Regions from separate parts of the Homo sapiens genome. Here region 2 is linked to region 1. Evidence: promoter capture Hi-C in human tissues and cell types (Jung and others, 2019). All regions are on one chromosome and are shown on one strand. Each heading gives the region's core, a stretch centred on a gene start or on the middle of the fragment in contact. The rest is flanking DNA. Distances are from core to core; before and after follow the strand shown.

The links. The method cuts DNA at HindIII sites, captures the fragments that hold promoters and counts their contacts. A contact is called where the count stands out against the background at its distance.
Region 2: a contact is called between a fragment that was not itself captured here and the fragment with the promoter of SAMD14 in region 1, in 1 of the 25 tissues and cell types used here (bladder).

The regions. Positions count from the first base shown.
Region 1 is chr17:50,126,550-50,131,485 of GRCh38, reverse strand. It overlaps SAMD14 (sterile alpha motif domain containing 14), which reads left to right and starts at 1,326. Exons shown (of 10, transcript NM_001257359.2): 1 at 1,326-1,969. RefSeq lists silencers at 1,231-1,310, 1,551-1,610. The HindIII fragment of the contact is 12,261 bases long and covers 1-4,936 here.
Region 2 is chr17:50,262,476-50,266,937 of GRCh38, reverse strand. LOC105371822 (a long non-coding RNA gene) reads right to left here. Exons shown (of 6, transcript XR_007065844.1): 6 at 4,049-4,136. Among named protein-coding and RNA genes, the nearest start is that of TMEM92, 9.8 kb to the left of the region's middle. The HindIII fragment of the contact is 6,379 bases long and covers 1-4,462 here.

The sequences.
Region 1 (4,936 bases), core at 77-2,576:
CTCAGCTCACTCCAACCTCCACCTCCCAGGTTCAAGCAATTCTCATGCCTCAGCCTCCAGAGTAGCGCCACCATGCCTGACTAATTTTTGTATTTTTAGTAGAGACAAGGGTTTCACCATGTTGGCCAGGCTGGTCTCGAACTCCTGACCTCATGTAATCCACCCACCTTGGCCTCCCAAAGTGCTGGGATTACAGTCGTGAGCCACTGCGCCTGGCCTTTCACCACTTGCTCTTGAGCAAAGCACTTTCCTTCTTCTAAGTCTCTGTTTTCTCTGAGGCAGTGGGTAATGGAAACACCCACCTTGTGGGTTTATTGTGAGGGTGACAATAGATGATCTGAGAGCGCCTGGCACCTGCCAAGCTGTGACGTGCGGTAGCTGGTTGTGGATCCCTACATTGCCTCCCTGGCTGGCCTGCCACTACCATCAGCGCACTGGGTCCAAGTCTGATCTCATCCGTCCCCACCCCCACCTGCTCCAGGGCTTCCTGCCTCAAGCCAAGGTCCACAGCCATCCTAGACCCCTCCTCCCTCACCTCCTAGTCCAGCAGGTCCCCAAATCCTGTCAGCTTCTTCGGTGTCAGCTTCTTCAGGCCTGCATCCTGAAGGGCTCTCAGCTTAATCTGTAATCTTTATGCCCACTGCCACCGGCCCTCAATAGCCTCCAGCGGGTCTCCCTGCCTTCAGAGTGCCCTCTGTAACCCTGTCTCCAGGGGAGCCAAGGGTGCTTCCTAAATGCACACCTGAGCCCCTCCCTCCTCTTAATTTTGTGTGTGTGCGCGCGCGCGCGTGTGTGTGTGTGTGTGTGTGTGTGTGTGGGCGGCGGGGTGGGCGGCTGGTAGAATAAAGTGCAAGCCCCCTGCACCTCCCCAGCTTCAATTTATCTTCCCCTCTTGCCCTCCCACCCCCAACACCCCCTGGCACTTCCCTACCCTGGCCCGCAGTTGTAGCCAACACATCACATCCTCTGGGAATCCCCCAGCCCAGCTCCCGCCGCGGCCGCCTGGACCCAGGCCGGGCCAGGGGTGCGCTCTCCCTTCCGGCAAGAAGTGCCCTCTGTTAGCTGGGCCCATGGCGCCCAGGCTCGTGAGGGCCTCCCCACTCGTCTGAGCCCCCGACTGGCCCACTGGCCTTGAGCGCAGTTAGGGGGCGGGGGTTCTGTTCACCGCTGTCCCCTCCAGCCTCGGCGCCCCGGCTGCTCGGCGGACGTTTGTTGAATGAATGAACTAATCGGGAGCCCTGATGGACCCGGCAGAGGAGGCGGAAGCCCCGTGGGTCCCGTGGCGGGACCGCCCCGGAGCCGCTCCCACCCGCGCAGACTCCGGTGCGCCGCGTCTCCCGCGGGCAGAGAAGTAGCTGCAACTCCGCTCCCCGGCCCCAGCCGCCTCCTCCCCGCCGCCCTCCCCCGCCCCCGCCCCCTCGCTCCCTCCCGCTCTTTGTCTCCTGGGCGCCCGGCTTCTCCGCCACGCGCCCCCCACCCCGACGCCCCTTCCCCGGAGACCCCCGCGGACCCCTGCCGACGCGACGCCGCGCGAATCGGCCCTGCCAGGCGGGGGCCCCGCGTCCGGCCAGGCCTGGCGGGCGGCAGGGGCGGGGAGGGAGGTGGCGCTCGCTCTTCGCTCTTCTCTCTCTCTCTCTCTCTGTCACACACACACACACGCACACGCACACGCACACACACACGGAGCATCCTCCCGTCAGGTCTCCTGGTCCAGCCCCGCCCGCGCCTCCTGCTTCCAGCGAACCTGTTCCCTCTCCCCACATCCCCCGCCCTCCATCTCCCCCGGCTCTGGGACCCTTCCCGCCGACCTCACCCCCACCCCCGGGATGGAGCGGCTCGAGCCCGCCCGGAGCCCCCCGCGGCCGGGGTGACGGTCCCCCCACCCCTCTCCTGCCCGGCCCCCGCCTCGAGCACCATGGGCCTGAGGGGTTCCCGGGGCGCCAGACGCTGAAGATGACCGATGCCGGAGGTGAGGGGCCGGGCGCCCTGGGGTGGACCGGGAACTGGGGCTAGGGCCACTCGGGCCCGCGGTGGGACCCTGAGTGGGGTTGGGCAGGGCTAAGCGACAAGGGCCTTTCTTCCCCTATCCCTAGGGGGACCGCACGGGGCTGGGGTGCCGGGCTGTCAGGGGAGGGGGCGGAGATAGGATTTATGGCCCTAATCCCCTCCCTCCCGCCCGACGCCCGGAGAAATTAATAAAAAGCTGGTGTGGGGGGAGGGGGAGAGGGCTTAACTCTTTCTTGCCCGGCGGGGAGTTGTGCTGATGGTTTGGAGAGAAACTAGCCACCGGGCTCTGACTGGGGAGAAGGGCTCTGAGAGTGGAGTAGGTGCCCTGTCCCCAACCTCACCCCATCTCCAACAGTGCTTTGAGGGGGTGCCCGACTCCTGAGGACTACCCCAAGCCTGGGGCCAGTGGACGGCCGGCGATATGGGAAGGGGGGACCACCTCTCTGGCTCCACAACTGCCTCCCCGACCGCTAGTCTCCTTTCCCATCCACCTCTTCCCGGCCTCTCCCAGTTGCACTTCTCTCTGTCGCTTTCTCCTCTTCAGGGGCCCTTTCCTATCGCCTGCCCGAAGGGCTTCTCCCTTCTCTCCCACCCTCGGGCGTCACTTAGAGCGGCGGAAGCCCTTGTTCCCAGTGCCAGTTCCCGTGGCCCCACTCTCGGTGTGATCTCTTTCTTCTCAGCAGCCCTGTGGACTCTCCGCCAGTTTGTGTGTCTGTCTCTGCTTCTTCCTACTCCTCACTTCCTTCCGCTCCCGCTCCCGCTCCCTCCCCAGGAATTGTGCGCCCTTTCTTCCTTTCTCCTTCTCCTGGGTCCCAAGAGGCTGTGAGCTCACCTGCCTCCCTTTCTCCCAGAGAAGGGTCAAAGGTCATTGGTGCTCCTTCTCCAGGATTGGAAGCCTTGGGGGGAAGGGTATCCAGAGGAACCGGTTCAATCCCACCCTTGTGCAGTTACCTGGCTGAATGGGGGTGTGTGTGTGTGTGTGTGTGTGTGTGTGTGAGAGAGTGTGCGGGGTGTGTGTGGGAGTGAGAGTGGGGGCGGGTTTGGTGTCTAATTTTTCTAGGCTCAGTTTTGGAAGGAGAGGGTTGGGTGGGAGGGGTCTGGTGACCCCCTGGACACAATGTAGGGAGGGTCCCCCTACACACCCCAGAAAGTTAGTTGTTGAAGGGAAGAAAAGAGAGCAGTTTGTGCTGAATCAGGATGGACCGAGAATGGCTTTGAGCAGGAAACCCCAATCCAGCCCAGAGGGTGCCTGGAAGAGGAGGACTCCAGCCAGCAGAGGATCTCGACCCTGGAATGGGCTCTTGAATAAAGAACACAGGATCTTCATTCTCAGAGGCAGAAAGGAGACAACACTACTGCCCTCAGAGAGCCTCCATTCTGATGGGAGAGGCAGTTCCTGTCTTCACAGTCCCTAGTCTGACGGAAGAATACGTGGACCCTTTCTTCTCTGGGCTCCCATCTGATTGGTGGGGGGGAGATGAGACCTATTTAAGGAATCAGTGAAGTATGAAGAATTCCCCATTTCCCAGTAGTTGGAGAAGGGTGGATTTAGAAATTACGAAGACAAATGAGAGGAGGGAGGGCTACCTAGGACAGCTTCCTGAAGGAGGTGGCAGCTGGGTCCTAGCCAGATAAGGCTTTGTGGTTGAATCAGGAAATGTGGTTAATTCTTAGGGTCAGCCTTCCTTCCCATCTGGCCTGTCAGGACAGGAAGAAATGTTCTAGATCTTTGCTAGTAGCCCCTGGAGTTCAAGAATGGCAGGAGGGTTCTCGGAGAGTCTGCTTCCCTGATGACCCCTTCCCACACCTCATTTTCTGCTTTCAGCCCCAGGCATTTATGGAATCTGGAGGTGGTTTTGTTTTTTGTTTTTTTTTTTGAGACAGAGTTTTGCGCTTGTTGCCCAGGCTGGAGTGCAATGGCACGATCTCGGCTCACTGCAACCTCCGGCTCCCAGCTTCAAGCGATTCTCCTGCCTCTGTCTCCCGAGTAGCTGGGATTACAGGAATGTGCCACCACACCCGGCTAATTTTGTATTTTTAGTAGAGACAGTTTTTTCCATGTTGGTCAGGCTGGTCTCAAACTCCCGACCTCAGGTGATCTGCCCGCCTCGGCCTCCCAAAGTGCTGGGATTACAGGCGTGAGGCACTGCGCCCAGCCTAGAGGTGGTTTTGATGCTTCTCCCAGTCCTGGTCAGTGTGGAGCAGCTTCCCTCCCTCTATGCTTATCTCTTCCTCCACCCCTAAACTGAAGATCATCACCTAGGATAGCGCAGAGGGGCAGGAGCCCTGGCTCAAGGCTGAGTTCTGCCTCTTTTATTATTATTATTATTATTGCTTTTATTTATTTATTTACTTATTTACTTAATTTTTTTTTTTTTGAGATGGAGTCTCCCTCTTGTCACCCAGGCTGGAGTGCAATGGCATGATGTCGGCTCACTGCAACCTCCACCTCTCAGGTTCAAGTGATTCTCCTGCCTCAGCCTCCTGAGTAGCTGGGATTACAGGTGTGCACCACCACACCCAACTAATTTTTGTGTTTTTAGTAGAGACGGGGTTTCACCATGTTGGCCAGGTTGGTCTCAAACTCCTGACCTCAGGTGATCTGCCCGCCTCGGCCTCCCAAAGTGCTGGGATTACAGGCGTGAGCTATCACGCCCAGCTACTTACTTATTTTTGAGATGAGGGTCTCACTATGTTGCCCAGGCTGGTCTAGAATTCCTGGGCTCAAGTGATCCTCCCACCTCAGTCTCCTGAGTAGCTAGGATTATAAGCATGCACCAACTTTGCCTGGCTTCCTCTCATCTCCTGTTTCTCAGTTTTCACATCTGTAAAGTGGCGATATGTATCTGTAAAGTGGGGATATGAAAATTCCCAGGCCAGGCGCGGTGGCTCACGCCTGTAATCCCAACACTTTGGGAGGCCGAGGCGG
Region 2 (4,462 bases), core at 220-2,719, 140 kb before region 1:
CAGGACTGTAGGTTTCCTCTACGGAAGGGCCCCTTCCCTGCGGGCTTTGATGTGTCTGCGAGGTTCGTGGAGGATGTTTGGCTTCAGGGCCCAGTGCCAGGATAAACTCCCTCTGCCTGCTGGGCCAAACCACTACCTCCTCCCTGCCTGGCTCTCCTGCCTCCCCCAGCCTTGGGCCTGGCCTCCTCCAAGGCTAGCACTGCCCTGCCTGCTTACTGCGGTGGGCACCAAGACGCCACTGTTACTGCTACTGGGGAGAGACCTGTGGGCAATCCTGGTCCCCAAGGCTGGCCCAGCAGTGCCTGCTGCTAGGTAACCGAGGTCCTGCTCCAGGTGGGGGATGCTGGACCCCAACTGCCAGCAGGGATGGGGATGAGATGGAGCAGGGGGGAGGGGGTGTCTACGTGGAGCTGCTTGCACAGGCTTCAGCTCTTCCAGATGTGCAGAGGTTCCAGATGTGGGGATGACTCAGCCCGGAATGAGGAGGGGTGGGCGGTGCATGGGGGAATGGTGAGCAGGGGGATCTGAGGCCCTGAGCAGCTGCCAGCTGCTGCCTCCTGTCCTCCGGAATTTGCAGCCCCTCAAAACCCCAGAGGTGGGCGAAGTGGTATTTAATAGCTGCTGGGAGCTGCCCATATGTGTGGCCCTCAAGTGTCCCACCATGTGCTGGGAAAGAGACCTCAGGGCCAGGGGCTCAGCTAGGAGAGAGAGAAAGGGAGAAAGTGGAAGGCGGGCAGAGGAAGTGGGAGGAGGACCGAGAGTGGCAGGGAGGACGGAGAGTGGGAGGGGCAGGGAGAAGCCCAGGACTAAAATGGTGGCCCCTACTTGGGCCCACTTTCAAGTGTGGCACTGGGAGGAGAGTGTATTGGTTCAGAGGACTGTGTGTGTGTGTGCGCACGTGTGCGTGTGTGCACGCATGCAAGCAAATGTGACCTTGCTGCTGGAGTGGAGGTTATGCGGGTGGAGAAGGAGCTGTGTTGGGTGAGCATTGTGTGTCTGGTGTGTGTATGCTGCGTTTGTGAGCTGGGTGCTGGATGATGTGTATGTTGGGTGTGGCAGAGTGCAGGAGCATGTTCTATACCATCTGTGTGATAGAGAAGGACTGTGGGTACAGCGACTGTGTAGTGATGGGCTGTGATGGGGAAAGGGTGTTTGTTTATGCCAAGTTACATGTGCCTTTGGATGCAGAAGGTGGGTCCCACAAACCTGGGGAGTTGAGTGGCATCTGGGCCTATCAGACCAGGACCCCAAAGACCTGGGGCTTCCTTCAGCCTCCCCTGGGGGGCCTTGGGGACCAGTGTCCAGCATCCTGGAGCTGTGGTTTCTCCTGCTGGGCCCTGGGCCATATGGTCTCCCTTGCAGGGCAGCTGGGAGACCCCTGAGCTTCAGAGGCTGGCACCCTGCAAACTGCAGTGCAGGGTGTGCGGCGGGCAAGGTGCCTCCCTCCCCATCCTGGAGAGCTGCTGTCCTGGCCTCCTCTCTGGCCTGCAGGGGAGTCTGCTGGCAGGGCCACCAGCTGCTCCCTGGAGAGGCCCACCTGTGCCAGCCACCCTTGCCAGGGTAAACAGGGCACTAAGTGTCTGGGCTGGTGCCTGCCTCAGGCTGGGCATTGCCTCTCCACACAGGGCTCAGCTCCCAGTTGTGGCTTGGGTTGCCTCCTCCAGCTAAATGACAGGCCTGATGCCCCAGGCCCCATAAACAGTGTTTTCTTGGGAGGTGGGGATCATGGGGGCTGCTGAGCAGACAGATAATCAAGTTGGATTGGGAAGACAGCATGTTGACTCCTCTAAGGCGAGGAAGGCTTTTGTGACCCTTTCCCAGTGCTGCGGGGTCCTTGCCCCTTTTGGGTGACACTGGTTGAATCCTCTGTTATTCTCCCAACACACACACACATACTCACACTCACACACCACCAGCCCTCCGCTCCAGGTTGTCGGCATCAATTTACTTGTGAGTGCAAACAAGCGGTGGCTGGGATCTGGTCAGCTGGTCCTGTGCTGTGTGTCCCCTCTGTTCACAATCCAAGGCTGAAGCCTGCAGAGGTTGGGGCCCGTCTCTAAATCGCTGCATGACGGTGTGCACTTGGATGTGTACCTGGCCCTCCAGACACTGTGATGCTGCCACCCAGCCCTGCCCCATTCCCTGGACATCTCTGTGGCCGGCTCTTTCTCGGTCCACCTCCTTGCCGCCCCCTCCACCCTCCCCTCCCTGTGACTGACTCAGAGTGAGAGGAGCCTCTGGTTCCTCAGCCCTGCCTCTGACTCCCCTCCAGGCTCCTACCCCCAGCGCAACCTCACAGGGAGGAGGAGCCCTAGCTCCACCCCTTTGAAGCAAAGCCCCCTCAAGGGGACGGGAGGAGCGGGCAGGTAGAGGCTGGACCTGGGGGAGCCAGGTCTGCTGGCCAAGGAGCAGGCTTCCAGAGAGGGCACTGAGCAGGGGCCAGGCTGCCTGAAATAGAGGGGCGTGCAAGGATGGCAGGGAGCAGGAGGACGCTCTGCAGACACCTGAGCCCGCCAGCAGCCGGGGAGCAGGCATCTGGGCCCAGCCACCCACTGCTAGTCTTGAGGAGGGAGGCAGTGGAGGAGCGGCGGGTGTCCTCCTGGGCAGCCAGCAGAGGCCCTGCCCCCACTTCACTGCGGTGGGGTGGAGAACAGAGAGAGCGGTGCGGTGCGGAGCCCACAGGGCTACCACAGCGGGCCCTGTGGGTAGGAAGGGGGTGCTGCCATCCTGGGGCTCTGGAAGCACCCCTTCCCCACTCTCCCTCCCTCTGTCATTGCCCACCTCTGTTTCTGTCTCTGTCCTTCACTCTGCCGCTTCTTTGTGTGTGCCTGTCTTTCTCTATCTTCCACTCTCTTCTCCCTTTTCTCCTCTCCCTCCCCCTCTCTCTTTTCCCTAAGGGGAGCAGCTCCAGTATCTGGGGCCAGCTTCCCAGAATGGAAGGTGGCTTTGTCCAGGGAGAGGGAGGCCCCTGACCCAAGCCTGTGGTCTCAAAACAGCCACATCCGGCTCCCCACTTCTTTGCCCAGACCCTCCTGCAGGACCTCTCTGTGCCTGGGAGTCCTTGAAGCCAGAGCCCATTCTGCTTTGCCAGGTGGTATGGGAGCCCCAGTGCCCCCATATTCAGAACTGCTTGTCTCAGCAACGGGGATGAAGGCAATCTCTCTCTCTCTTCTCTCTCTCTCTCTCTGTCTCTCTCATCCCCAAGAAGGCAATGCTCTGGGTGGCTGAGAGGCTGGAGTCTGAGCCCCATCGCTGGGTGACCAGATACCCCGTGTGCCCAGGACAGTTCAGACCTATGTCATTGCCTGGGTGTAACTGCTACGAGCACTCCAAAGTATCCTAGTTTGGACTAAAAATTACATCCCCCATGGCCAGTCAGACCCTGGCAAGGCTCACAGCCTCTCCCACTCCCTTCACCCTCCCAAGACAGCTGTATAGCCTGCTTGGGCCTCACTCAAGGACAACAGGGCCAGAGAGCAAACAGGGGAGCAGGAGCTGTATAAATAGCCCATTTTGGGGGAGCCCCCTCAGCACGGTGTCGGGCGGGTCTGCTTGCTGGAGAGGGAGGAAGGAGAACTGTGGTTGCCCCCAAGCAGCATGTAATTTAGGATTTATTTTGGGGCACTCTCTATAGCTCGGGGTGGAGCTGAAGTTAATTTAAAGGTTTAATGGGGTCGGGGGCTGGATGGGGAGGAGGAGAGGGAAGCCCTCCCACATTTGGCCTGGCTGGGAAGAGGGTCCTTTGCCAGTTGCCTGCCAACTTCTATCCCTGGGTCTGTTCCTGGGAGGTTTCTAGGACACCTCAGCTCTTGTTCCCAGATGCTCCATGCCTCTCCCTGAGTCTCAGGGTGCTTCTAGCCTGATGGAGAAGCTGGTTCTACCTTTGTCTGATGGAGCAGGCACAGGCTCTGCCCTCAGGGAGCCCTCAGTCTGAGGGGAGACAGGACACAAGCCCGGCCTTCAGAGTGGCCAGTCATGATGGCATCCCCCATCATGATTTTAATTTTTAGTCTTTACTTGTTCACGACTCTATATCTGTGTCTCTTCCTGGAACTTAAGATCCGTGACAGCAGGGACTTCTATCTGCCTCTCACAGCATCTTCGGCACTTGTCTAGCACCAAGCAAGCAATATTTCCTGAATGAATGAATGAATGAATGAACTGGGAAACAGCACCAGATCTGAAAGCCCCACGTCAAGAGGCAGCAGTGGATAAACTCTAAAGTCCTTCCGCATTCCAGCCTGTGTGATGTGGCCCTCCACCTTGCCGCCTCCCACCCCTCTGGCCACACTCTTCAGCCACCAGCCACTATGAGCACTGGCTGCCCTGGTGTCAGCCCCAGTTCCCACCTCCACCCCTTTCCTCACCGCACTCCCTCTTCCTGCAACTGCCTTTGCTCCCATTGCCACATGACTAAATCCTGCCAGTCCTTCAAGGCCCTACGCAGAGTCACCTCCAGGAA